4 separate regions of the Homo sapiens genome follow, and all the other regions are linked to region 3. Evidence: promoter capture Hi-C in 16 types of primary human blood cells and fetal thymus (Javierre and others, 2016). All regions are on one chromosome and are shown on one strand. Each heading gives the region's core, a stretch centred on a gene start or on the middle of the fragment in contact. The rest is flanking DNA. Distances are from core to core; before and after follow the strand shown. Region 1 holds the start of KIF24 (kinesin family member 24). Region 2 overlaps NPR2 (natriuretic peptide receptor 2). Region 3 holds the start of STOML2 (stomatin like 2). Region 4 overlaps TLN1 (talin 1).

Evidence for each region. The method cuts DNA at HindIII sites, captures the fragments that hold promoters and counts their contacts. A CHiCAGO score of 5 or more calls a contact.
Region 1: a contact is called between the fragment with the promoter of KIF24 here and the fragment with the promoter of STOML2 in region 3, in 1 of 17 cell types (monocytes). The highest score is 6.8, in monocytes.
Region 2: a contact is called between a fragment that was not itself captured here and the fragment with the promoter of STOML2 in region 3, in 1 of 17 cell types (naive CD8 T cells). The highest score is 5.3, in naive CD8 T cells.
Region 4: a fragment that was not itself captured here is called in contact with the fragment with the promoter of STOML2 in region 3 in 1 of 17 cell types (M2 macrophages); the score reaches 5.3 in M2 macrophages.

What each region holds. Positions count from the first base shown.
Region 1 is chr9:34,327,669-34,330,550 of GRCh38, reverse strand. It overlaps KIF24 (kinesin family member 24), which reads left to right and starts at 1,283. Exons shown (of 13, transcript NM_194313.4): 1 at 1,283-1,445. It overlaps NUDT2 (nudix hydrolase 2), which reads right to left and starts at 982. Exons shown (of 5, transcript NM_001161.5): 1 at 952-982. RefSeq lists enhancers at 1,037-1,226, 762-1,269, 1,357-1,456, 1,557-1,616. The HindIII fragment of the contact is 30,936 bases long and covers 1-2,882 here.
Region 2 is chr9:35,808,588-35,811,287 of GRCh38, reverse strand. It overlaps NPR2 (natriuretic peptide receptor 2), which reads right to left. Exons shown (of 22, transcript NM_003995.4): 19 at 2,605-2,700; 20 at 2,435-2,533; 21 at 2,041-2,132; 22 at 1,557-1,908. The coding sequence ends at 1,843. It overlaps SPAG8 (sperm associated antigen 8), which reads left to right. Exons shown (of 7, transcript NM_001039592.2): 2 at 1-106; 3 at 231-405; 4 at 606-651; 5 at 735-849; 6 at 979-1,041; 7 at 1,156-1,493. The coding sequence ends at 1,350. Among named protein-coding and RNA genes, the nearest start is that of SPAG8, 2.3 kb to the left of the region's middle. The HindIII fragment of the contact is 2,809 bases long and covers 46-2,700 here.
Region 3 is chr9:35,101,791-35,104,821 of GRCh38, reverse strand. STOML2 (stomatin like 2) reads left to right here and starts at 1,691. Exons shown (of 10, transcript NM_013442.3): 1 at 1,691-1,772; 2 at 1,999-2,136; 3 at 2,628-2,727; 4 at 2,860-2,918; 5 at 3,011-3,031. The coding sequence starts at 1,728. ATOSB (atos homolog B) reads left to right here. Exons shown (of 9, transcript NM_025182.4): 9 at 1-705. It also overlaps a transcript of PIGO-AS1 not described here. RefSeq lists enhancers at 1,424-1,473, 1,594-1,643, 1,654-1,923, 2,054-2,313. The HindIII fragment of the contact is 2,738 bases long and covers 247-2,984 here.
Region 4 is chr9:35,694,954-35,698,026 of GRCh38, reverse strand. TLN1 (talin 1) reads left to right here. Exons shown (of 57, transcript NM_006289.4): 57 at 111-1,079. The coding sequence ends at 236. Among named protein-coding and RNA genes, the nearest start is that of TPM2, 6.6 kb to the right of the region's middle. The HindIII fragment of the contact is 503 bases long and covers 1,067-1,569 here.

The DNA of each region.
Region 1 (2,882 bases), core at 34-2,533, 770 kb after region 3:
CTATAGCTCAGAGATGTCTGGGTAAGTGACTCAAATGTAGGTCTGCCTGACTCCTAACATCAATGATCTTAACCTTAACTCTATAATAGCGTTTTACATTTGACAATTTGATTGCATTCAGTTTTTTTTTGTTTTGTTTTGTTTTTGAGACGGAGTCTCGCTCTGTCGCCCAGGCTGGAGTGCAGTGGCGCGACCTCCGCTCACTGCAAGCTCCGCCTCCTGGGTTCATGCCATTCTCCTGCCTCAGCCTCCCGAGTAGCAGGGACTATACGTGCCCGCCACGACGCCTGGCTAACTTTTGTATTTTGTTTAGTAGAGACGGGGTTTCACCGTGTTAGCCAGGATGGTCTCGATCTCCTGACCTCGTGATCCGCCCGCCTTGGCCTCCCAAAATGCTGGGATTACAGGCGTGAGCCACCGCACCCGGCCTGCATTGTTTACGCTGTCCCTTTTTTGTTTGTTTGTTTAAGGCGGTGGGGCTCTTGTTCGACTTTCTTTACTTCTGCTATAACTGCCACGATATTATCCATTCAATAACTGAAGCAATTAGAAAACATAAAATCTCTTTTGGAAAGCAGGCGGGGTTTAATGGGTAGCAACAAGTGAAACTGAGGCCCAGGGAGGGGAAGGTTCGGCGCCTGGGCCTCTGGGCCCTAAACCTGGACCTCTCCCGCCTCTGGGATTTGGACGACCCACCCTATCCCCACTCCGACGGGGACAAGCAAGGCTCAGAGTCAGGGAACCTCCCTTCTCCCGGTGCAGACAGGAAAACTGAGGTCCTGAGAGCGGATGGGACCTGGCCTGCCCACACCTCACTGCCAACTTAGAGGAGGGCGCATCCCTCTCGGGCCCTGCAGCGACCAGAGGTTTGCCAGAGGCAGATTCCCATCGCTCCAAGGCTCATTTCCTCCACTGAGAACTAAAATCAAGTGGGCCCTTAAGGGTACTCACCCGAAGCAGAAGGAGGTAGGAGGCGGACCTTGGACGGAAACTGAAGTACACCGGCCAATCAGAAGAGCCTGGTTACGCTTGGGCCCATCAATAGAATTCGGCAGAAGGATCTTCGACCCGCCTCAAAGGTGCGCGTCTCACACTGAAACGTCGCGAGATCTTCCCTCAAGCGGAACGATTGGCTGAAGGTCGGAAATTGAGAGTTACGCCCACGGTTTCTTCAGACCTCTGATTGGTCTTCCAGAGGAGAAGTCAACGAACGTCAACCGATTCCTTGGATGCCCATTGGTGGGCGGTGCGGGACTGGCGACGCGCGGGCCACAGCGCGGGCGTTCGAACTGGCGCTTGGCGGCGTTGCCATGGAGATGCGGCCTGGCCGCCGCCGGTGGCTCCCGGGTTGACGGGACTGTTAGGTTGCGGGCTTTGGGGCTCACTCCCGACGGCATTGTCTTCTCCTCTTCTCAGACAGGGCAGACCGAGGAGTTTGGACCGAGGTGAGAAAGGGCGGGGAGAATAGAGGAGGGGTAGGTCTGGTCCGGAACCGTGGCGCCTGCCCGCGGACACGGGTGCGCGTGACGTCGGCTGAGCGCGGGAGGAAACTGGCAGTTGTGAGGGAACCGAGAGTTGGCCCCTCTTGGCTCTTCCTAAAGTTCACCTACTTTCCTATCTTTCATCCCCATATCTCTGCCTTTTCTTCAGCAATTATCTTGAACGCCACTTCTCTCACTTTGGGAGACTAAACTCTTGAGTCCCAAAGCCTTCTTGCTTTTGAACCGATAAGCCTGACCGGCACCTCTTTTAGGGCATTTCTATTCGCCCTTGGGTTGTTTACTTCCGGGAAGCCCGTTCGCTTCCCTTTTCCCATAAAATTTTGAAGCCTTTGAGGTAAGGCAAGCATCGTTCACAATGTCTTGCACATAGTAGATTTTCAGGAAATATTTGTTGAGTTGAATTTAATTTACAAGAAATAGATTGGATTCCTCTTCATGCCCTGCCTTGTTGTCTCTCTGCTTCAGAGACGATTTTTTATTTCGAGGCTAGGGGGAGGCCACCCTAATCTTCAATGCAAAAGGACCTAAAAGTCCACACACAGTCCACAGCTGGCCTTTCTACTCTTTGTGAAAGGCTAAACTTTTTTGGATTGGTTGCTGCAACTCTTCCTGCATCTGTGGCTTTTAGCCTTGGTCTCCCAATAATTTTATTAGACTCCTTTTAGTCTTTGCTTAAAATAAACCATTCTGTTGCTGTATGCCAAGATAATTTATCTCCCTTTAGCTTCTTAGTGACCGGCAGCTATTGTCACATTTTAAGTGTGCTTTGGAAAATGTTTTAAAGCATCTTCTTTGTACTTGTATTCTACAAGTAGAGAGGCTTTGTAGTCTCTCTATTGAAGTGCATATAACAGCTGCTCAGGTGAACTCCATCTATTCATCAGGTGTCTATGATAGAATTGCGTTCCTAAGACTGTTTCGTTGTTAACTCATGGATTATATATTCACAGCCTGATTGTTGGTGTGATTGCTCCTTATATCAAATTCATAGCTCACTGGTGGCCTTAATAAAAGGAGTGAAAAAGTTCAGTACAGCAGCTATGTTCTTGTTACCCTTTTATAAAAGTTTGAAACACTACCTTATAGCTGTGACATGTAGTGGAAACCCACTACATGTGGGTTTGGCTTTGGCTCTGTCTCTGTCTCTAATTCACTGTGGGTGGCTTTGCAAGTCATTTAGTCCCTTTATTATTATTATTATTTTTTTTTTATTAGAGAAAATGTCTTGCTCTGTCACCCAGGCTGTAGTGCACTAGCATGATAATAGCTCACCGCAGCCTTGAACGCCTGAATCTAGCCCCTTTAGACCTCATTTTTTCCATCTGGAAAATCAAAGAATTGAATTAGATTAAAATTCCTGTGGCTCTACTCTCAAGTCAA
Region 2 (2,700 bases), core at 201-2,700, 710 kb before region 3:
GGGTGCCCGAGGACTATGGAAACCCCCAGACATTAAAGGGAAGCTTATGGTTTGCTATGAAACTTTGCCGCGGGGCCAGTGCCTCCTCTACAACTGGGAGGAAGAGGTATTAAAGTTTTGGCCTGCTCCCTTTTCTTGAAGGCTGCCCTCAGTTTCTTAGGGGAGGCAGTAGTTTACATGAGGGTGGGTACCAGAAGGGATATTATAGTCATTCAACTTGGGATCCACAGAGAGCCACCAACCACCTGGATCAAGTCCCAAGCATGCAGGATGGCTCTGAGAGTTTTTTCTTCCGACACGGACACCGGGGACTGCTGACTATGCAACTAAAGTCACCCATGCCCTCCAGCACCACCCAGAAAGACTCGTACCAGCCACCAGGAAACGTCTATTGGCCACTTCGAGGTGTGAAATGTGAGAGGGTAGGCCAGAACGAGCCCATTACTCAGAGGGAAGAAGAGGAAGGAATTTCTGGTGGGGCTGTGGATTCTCCAGTGGATATAAGGGCGGAACCCCAAGGTTCTTCTTCCTTTTCTCAAGTTAGTTTCTTCTGGGCCTCCTTCTTAACCAGACCCCACCTTGCCCACCCCCCAACTCTCTCACAGGGAAGCGTGAAGCCATGCTGGAGATGCTCCTGCAGCATCAGATCTGGTAAGGGATTGGGTAAAGGGGAAGAGGGATGGGGAGGAGAAAAATTGGGTGAGAATGGCCTTGACACCCCTCGGGCTACATAGTAAAGAGGTGCAGGCAGAACAGGAACCCACAAGGAAGCTCTTCGAGGTTGAGTCTGTGACACACCATGACTACCGAATGGAGCTGGCACAAGCAGGGACTCCTGCCCCAACAAAGGTGAGAACCCACCCCCCATCCCCCGCCACTTGCACCAGCTGGGCTCTGACAGGCTGTGGCCAAGTACCAAGCCCAGAGGTTGAGAGAGAGGGCTGAAGGCCAGGAGTTACTCAGTACCCTCCCTCACAGCCTCACGACTACCGCCAGGAGCAACCTGAGACCTTCTGGATACAGAGGGCACCACAGCTGCCGGTGTGTGAGGGTGACTAGGTGTTGGGGGCAGAGCGGGGCAGGAAAGGTAGGGCAGAGTTGTTTTGTTCTGGCTTGGGGAGAGTGGGATCCATCCTCATCCTGGCACTCCTCCAGGGTGTCAGTAACATCAGGACATTGGACACACCATTCCGGAAGAACTGCAGCTTCTCAACACCAGTACCCTTGTCTCTGGGGAAACTTTTGCCCTATGAACCTGAGAATTACCCCTACCAATTGGGAGAAATATCTTCCCTTCCCTGTCCCGGAGGAAGGCTGGGTGGTGGAGGGGGGAGAATGACTCCTTTCTGAGGGGTGAGGAGGGAAGTGGGGTATGGAATATGGAATCTATTTCTGTCTGCACTAGAGAGGTCGGGAGGAAGTTAATTCTCACTGTACTTGAAGAGGCTTTACATAAAGGGTTCTCTCTCATCCCAAGACTGCTAATTTAGTGATTCTGTGAGTCACTGTGTGCATACCCCATAACCTTTCCTTGGGATTGCCCCTATCCCACACTATGACATCAGAACTTTTTTTATTATTGTTTTATATTTGACCAAAATATTCTGGTTTAGATACAGATATTTACAGAAAGTAGGGAGGAAGGGGACCAAGCCAGAGAGGGACAGGTATATGTACAGGGCTGAGCTGCAGAGGGCTACAACTTCCATATAAGGTAGGTTTTTTTGTGGCTGTTTTCCATTGCATATGAAAATGTCCATTTCTGGTGTGTGCAGACATGGTGGCCATTGCCCACCCAGGTACCAGCAGCAGAAGACTATCTGACTTGGAAAGAATGGGGGTTTACAGGAGTCCAGGAGGTCCTTTCCGCTCTCCTAAGAGCCAGTATGTTCGCATCTTTCCTTTTCCCTGGAAGTGGGAGAGTGGACATGATTCAGATGCTTCGATGTTAGTCCCTTTGTCTCCCTCTCTTTCCCTATGATTCCCATAATCACTTTCACCCTCCCTTTCCATGCCCCCCTCCCCATGGCCTGCCATCACCTTCATTTCCACATCCCCCCGAAGCTCTAGCTGGAAGCATCCTAGCTCATCTAGGGCATCCTTGGTGGTAGAGGAGACATGGATCTTCAGCGCTGGGGTGGGTGGAATGGGGAGGATGGTGGAATGAGGAATCAAAGAAAAGGCAATCAAATAATTGGTGATACTGTATAGCACCGTGCCCGACCAACCATCCCTGGGAAGCTCCCAATGCATATCTATTAGGACCAAAATATGCCCAACCTCCCAATGCATATCTATTAGAACCAAAATATGCCCGAGGATGCGACACTAAGGAACTGTGGTCTCTCAGATTAAGAAATTGGAGGGATTATGAAAAGAAGAAAAGGGCAAGATAAATTGAGGCCAACAGTGGGGTTGAGGGCTAATGTCTTACCTTGACCATTAGACTCCATTCGAGAAGCAGTGTTCACTGTGTCTCCAAAAAGACAATAACGGGGCATCTTCAGGCCAACAACCCCAGCACAGACTGGCCCTTTGAGAAGAAACAGGTTGGGAGAGTCTGGGAAAGGTGGAGACTAGGGCTGGAGTGAGAGTCAGCCTTACCAGTATGGACCCCTATGCGTAGCCTCAGCTGGTCATGGGGTCGGTGGCGGATGCGAAAGGAAGAAACTGCATCTAGTAATGCTAGGGCCATACGAG
Region 3 (3,031 bases), core at 442-2,941:
TGGCATCACTCCTCCCCGCTTCCCACTCTCAGATATTGCTCCAACCTCAGGAGTTGAAGAGGCTTATGCGGTGGGGGCAGGAGGAGAACTGCTTTCCCTCAGCTGAGGGAAGAGGGGCTATTCCAGAGGGACTGAGTCAGTAGCCAAAGACTCAGCTTCCCCTGTCCTTCCCCAGTCCCTTCACTTCCCCTACCCTCTGACCTATCTCTGAAAGCCAAGTTATGCGTATGTGTGTGTGCACAAGCTTGTCTTTGTGTGGTATGTGTGTGTGAGTGTGCATGTATGCACACACACAGGGGTTAACCACCCCTCACCTAGGGCTCCAGACTCCAGTTGTCCCTCTCCTCCTACCTGTGTCTCCTTGTTTTGGGGTCCTGACTGAAGAAGGTGTCCAGGGGGCAGAGTCAGGGCCAAGCACTGGGGTGCCTCCTCTCACCTGGCCAGACTCTGACCCACCTACCTCAGCTGGGGTGAGGGGCACCCCTCAAACTCAGTCATGTGGTTCCAAACTACCCCATTCCCCACTCCAGACTCTGACCCAGCCTCAGTCCTAACTCCTGGGGCTGGGCTGAGGGGAACAAGCATTTGCTGAAACTTGAAAAAACAAAGCAAATCAAAAACAGGAAAAAATTGTACCTGGTACTTTTTTTTAGAAAAAAAGATTAAAAAAGAAAGAATAAATTCTTGTTTGGAAACTTGAACTAAGCTCTACTTTTGTTGTTGTTGTTGTTGTTGGGGAGAGGGTGTGAAGGGGGATGGAGGGCCTTCCTGGAGCTGGGACTCAGCCCTTTCTACCAGAGAGGCAACAGGCCTGGGCCCATGAGGTCTTAGGCTAGTCCCTGCTGATTCCTGGGGCCTGGTTTTTCTCCTTTCGGAGGGGTTGGTGGGTAAAGTTCAGCCGTAGAAGCTGAACTCTGAATTGTAGATCAGGATTCTAATACTGGTTCTATTAATGACTTTAGCCCCTCAGAACTTCAGTGCCCTCATATGTAAAATGGAGGTGACTACGGAGGTCTCTTGACTACCAGAGCATTAGGGATGTGGGCAAGGTGACATGCTCCAGACAAGGTTGAACGTTGAGGCTGTTTGCTGGACTGTATTTAAGACCGGGCATAACAAACCTTGCTTGGGAAGACAGGGAAGGAGCTGCAGTGTCTTTGAGGAAAGAGGGGAGGGGAAAATCTCGGCCCAATCGCCAGGCAATATTAGGCCCAGTTTCCATGGCAACGGGATTGGGGTCAGTCCCCAGTGGGAGTCCTGGGCACAACACAGCGGGACTACCAGAGAATATCACTATGGCAACCATGGCAACGAGTCAGCTCCAATCCACTAGTCGCTATGGTGACAGATGGGGGCGATACTACGCTCTGGTGGGCAAACTGAGTCTCGGGTGAGGACGAATAATTCAGTGCGTGGTGTCTGAGTGATAATGCCCGCGAAAAATAGCCTCCATTTTGGCCATCAGGCCGGGGATCTTCGGCGTGAACAGCTAAACCCAGAACAACCACAGCCTTCGCCCTTCTCTAGAAGGTCTGCGTTTCCCAGGGAACAACTTGACGCGCCGTTCGACCAAGTAACGCTGATTGGGTGAGTGTTGAAGCGGGGGAGGGAGCTGCCGGAAGTACATCCGGGGGAGCGGAACTGCAAGAGGAAAGGCTCGGGTAGGCTTCTGGGAGCGACCGCTCCGCTCGTCTCGTTGGTTCCGGAGGTCGCTGCGGCGGTGGGAAATGCTGGCGCGCGCGGCGCGGGGCACTGGGGCCCTTTTGCTGAGGGTGAGAGCGAGGCAACCTTTCCAGAGGGTCAGGACAGAGATTACCTGGGTTCTCCGCTGGAAAAGAGCGAAATTCCAACTTTTGGAGAGGACTGGGGTCAGAGGTCATGGTCCCCATGTGATTCTCCGAGGATCCTGAGGGTCGTGGTTTATGGAGATGCCTTCAGGACCGAGGGGCGGCGTGTCTGGCCAGATGGGATCTCTGCTCACCCTCTTCTTTCCTTCAGGGCTCTCTACTGGCTTCTGGCCGCGCTCCGCGCCGCGCCTCCTCTGGATTGCCCCGAAACACCGTGGTACTGTTCGTGCCGCAGCAGGAGGCCTGGGTGGTGGAGCGAATGGGCCGATTCCACCGGATCCTGGAGCCTGTGAGAAACCTCTTCTGCCCACCCTGGGCCAGCCAGATGACCAATCCCTCACGACATGCAATGTCGGGAGGACTTCCTTTGGGCCTGCCCGCACTGTTAGCTCCCGACTCTGTAGGCCAGACCTGACAGGGCCCAGGCTGCTGACCATCATCCCCATGTTACCACCTTTTCCTATGCATCTCACAGGCCCCATTCTTGGGAATCTCCCCTGCCCACTCTCAGCCCTACCTCTCAGTCTGCATAGAGATGGCTATTCTGCTGGCTCCGATTCTCATGACTCTCCCCTCCATTCAGGGGCCTAGTCTTGCATTCCTGTTCTCTTGGGTTTTCTTACCAGTGACACCTCAGCCTTCTGAGGACTTATTTCTTGGTAGGAGCTGCTGCTTTTCTGGGCATGTTCCATGTGTTGACTCCCTACATACTCCAGGACTAGCTTAGGTCCCAACCCAATAGTTCCCAGCCTTCTGAGGACCCATGACTCCTCTTTCCAGGGTTTGAACATCCTCATCCCTGTGTTAGACCGGATCCGATATGTGCAGAGTCTCAAGGAAATTGTCATCAACGTGCCTGAGCAGTCGGCTGTGACTCTCGGTGAGGGGTTCAGGGTGACATGGGTGCTCTGAGGCTATTAGGATGTGGTTGCTGTAGATCCAGAGCTTAGTAGAAAGAACTGGTTGGGACCTAGAGGCCTGACTTTCCCCGTTTTCTCTCCTGGTTCTACAGACAATGTAACTCTGCAAATCGATGGAGTCCTTTACCTGCGCATCATGGACCCTTACAAGGTACCTGTCCCCTACTTTATCCAGCCTTTTGAGTTGCCCTCTTCACTAAAATCTTGTGCCCAAGCTTCTTACACTATCCGTGTCCATCTCAGGCAAGCTACGGTGTGGAGGAC
Region 4 (3,073 bases), core at 69-2,568, 590 kb before region 3:
TGCTGAGGGACGCTGTCAGGAGGGCAGTCATGTTGCCTGCGCTGGTCCCAACTACCCTATGCCCCTGCTGTGCATCCTCACTGAACTAAGTCCCCGATCTCCACCCTCAGATCATCGCAGCACAGGAAGAAATGCTTCGGAAGGAACGAGAGCTGGAAGAGGCGCGGAAGAAACTGGCCCAGATCCGGCAGCAGCAGTACAAGTTTCTGCCTTCAGAGCTTCGAGATGAGCACTAAAGAAGCCTCTTCTATTTAATGCAGACCCGGCCCAGAGACTGTGCGTGCCACTACCAAAGCCTTCTGGGCTGTCGGGGCCCAACCTGCCCAACCCCAGCACTCCCCAAAGTGCCTGCCAAACCCCAGGGCCTGGCCCCGCCCAGTCCCGCAGTACATCCCCTGTCCCCTCCCCAACCCCAAGTGCCTTCATGCCCTAGGGCCCCCCAAGTGCCTGCCCCTCCCCAGAGTATTAACGCTCCAAGAGTATTATTAACGCTGCTGTACCTCGATCTGAATCTGCCGGGGCCCCAGCCCACTCCACCCTGCCAGCAGCTTCCGGCCAGTCCCCACAGCCTCATCAGCTCTCTTCACCGTTTTTTGATACTATCTTCCCCCACCCCCAGCTACCCATAGGGGCTGCAGAGTTATAAGCCCCAAACAGGTCATGCTCCAATAAAAATGATTCTACCTACAACCTCTGCCTGGCTTCAAGGGAGATACAAGTTTTCTCCCAGGGCAGTAGGAGAGACAGTGGGGTTGAATTCTGTCACCCAGCTTGATCCAGCTTGAAATGGGAGAGGGGAAGACTGGCAGTCTGCACCTGAGGTCCCTTCCTCCTTGCACCCGGACCCTAAAGTTATCCAATGGGGAAGTTGTGCCTGAGAAGTCATACTCCTGTTATCCTCACCTCCCTGGCCAGCACCTAAGCCTCACAAAGTGTCGTTCTGCTGCTGCTGGGACAGCAGCTACCACAGTTCCTTGTGGCTACCAGGACATTCTGTTCTTCATAGCTACTCAGGGTATGTCAACAAATCCAGTCCTTGACCAAATTCAAATTTTCAAAAGAAGCTTTGCTAAAAATAATATGCCTGTAAGTGTCTGAGCCTAAGAGAACTATGGCCACAAAACTGATTGAAGCCATTAGCAAGCAGAAAAATCCCAACTTGAGGCTGCCTCGGGTAGGCACCGCTCTTGATTGGGTTGGGACACTCCTGCCTAGGGTAGCGCTAAAAGTGAAGAGCTTGACCCAGGTGTGAGAATTTATTGTTAGAGGGGGCAGAGCTCCCCTAGTGGCCAGGAAGGTGCTAGCAGCCCTGTTCCAGCCACCCTGCTTATCTGGTGGGTCAGTGGAAAGAGGCAGTCAGAGAGGTGGATGCTGTGTGCTTCCACGTCCCCATCCAGCCACTCTGTCCATAATGCATGGACTCTCTGACAGTCGTCTTAGGTTGGCAACTATTTTCATGCGTGATTCTTTAGTCAGCCCTACCGCCCAGTACATTATTTCCTCAAGTAGAACACAAACGCCACCCATCTGCTACTAACACCTTCTACTCCCACCACATTAGGGAAAGCTTGAAGTAGATGGAATGTAGCTGGTAACGGTGGTTCGAGCCTCTAATCCCAGCTACTTAAAAGGCTGAGGCAGGAGGACTGCTTGAGACCAGGAGTTCAAGGCTGCAGTGAGCTATGATGGTGCCACTGTGCACCAGCCTGGGTGACGGAGTGAGAGCCCTTCTCTAAGAAAGTAGATGGAACTCTAGGACAGCCCATTAGGGATGGTGCCAACCTCCTACCATCACTCCTATCACCTGTGATTCATTCATTCAATATTTACTAAGCCATGCTTGTGCTAAGCACTGGAAAATTGAGATGTATTATCACTTCTCTGACGCAGAGGACTGGCAACTCCAGTACATACTGTGGGGGCTCCCTAATCCCAGATTCAATGTCATAGTATCAGTTGAGGACCTTGGAGATCAAATCCCTTCTATAACCTCCCCGACAAGTGGCAGTCTAGACTTTGAACTCCAGCTAGGAGCCCAGGACAGCTGCTTACTCCTGTTACCATTTCCTTGTCATGTCCTCAGGAACTGGGACCAATCACATACTTCTCACTAGTGATACCTTGGGAGCCATCTGGGGAGAGGCTTTAAAACCTATTAAACCAGCAGCTCTTCAAATGTGGTCCTCAGACCCCTAGGGTTCCCTAAGACCTTTTCAGGGGTCCATAGGTCAAAATTATTTTCATAAAAATACCAAGACATTATTTTCCTTAGCTGGGGATGGTGGTGCACACCTGTAATTCCCAGCTACTTGGGAGGCTGAGGCACCAGAATTGCTTGAACCTGTGATGCGGAGGTTGCAGTGAGCCAAGATCACGCCACTGCACTCCAGCCTGGGCAACAGAGCAAGACTCAAAAAAAATGTCCTTGATGAAGTAAAAAAAAAAAATTTTTTTTTTTTTTTGAGACGGAGTCTCGGTCTGTAGCCCAGGCTGGAGTGTAGTGGCGTGATCTCGGCTCACTGCAACCTCCACCTCCTGTGTCCCGGTTCAAGCAATTCTCCTGCCTCAGCCTCCCGAGAAGCTGGGATTACAGGCACATGCCATCATGCCCAGCTAATTTTTGTATTTTTAGTAGAGACAGGGTTTCACCATGTTGGCCAGACTGGTCTTGAACTCCTGACCTCATGATCTGCCTGCCTCAGGCTCCCAAAGTGCTGGGATTACAGGCGTGAGCCACCACGCCCAGCCTAAATGTATTAATTTAATTAAACCTTAATCCTTAAGGAAAAGGCTTTTCAACATTCTGTCTGATAAAGTGGGAAGTATGCATAAGACATTTTGCATACCAAAGTATGATGGTTTTCTGGAGGAAATAACTTAGGCCATTCTTTGAGTTGTGAGCTGAACTAGCTGCTCTTTTATGGAATGCCACGTTTACTCAAAAGAATGGCCGACAAACTGTGGTTATCAGATTTAGGTAGCTGGCAGAACTTTTCTAAAAAGGAACAAAGTGAGTCTGTCACTTCAGGGAAAAATCTGACAGTGTTTGTTGCCAATGATATAATTCAAGCTT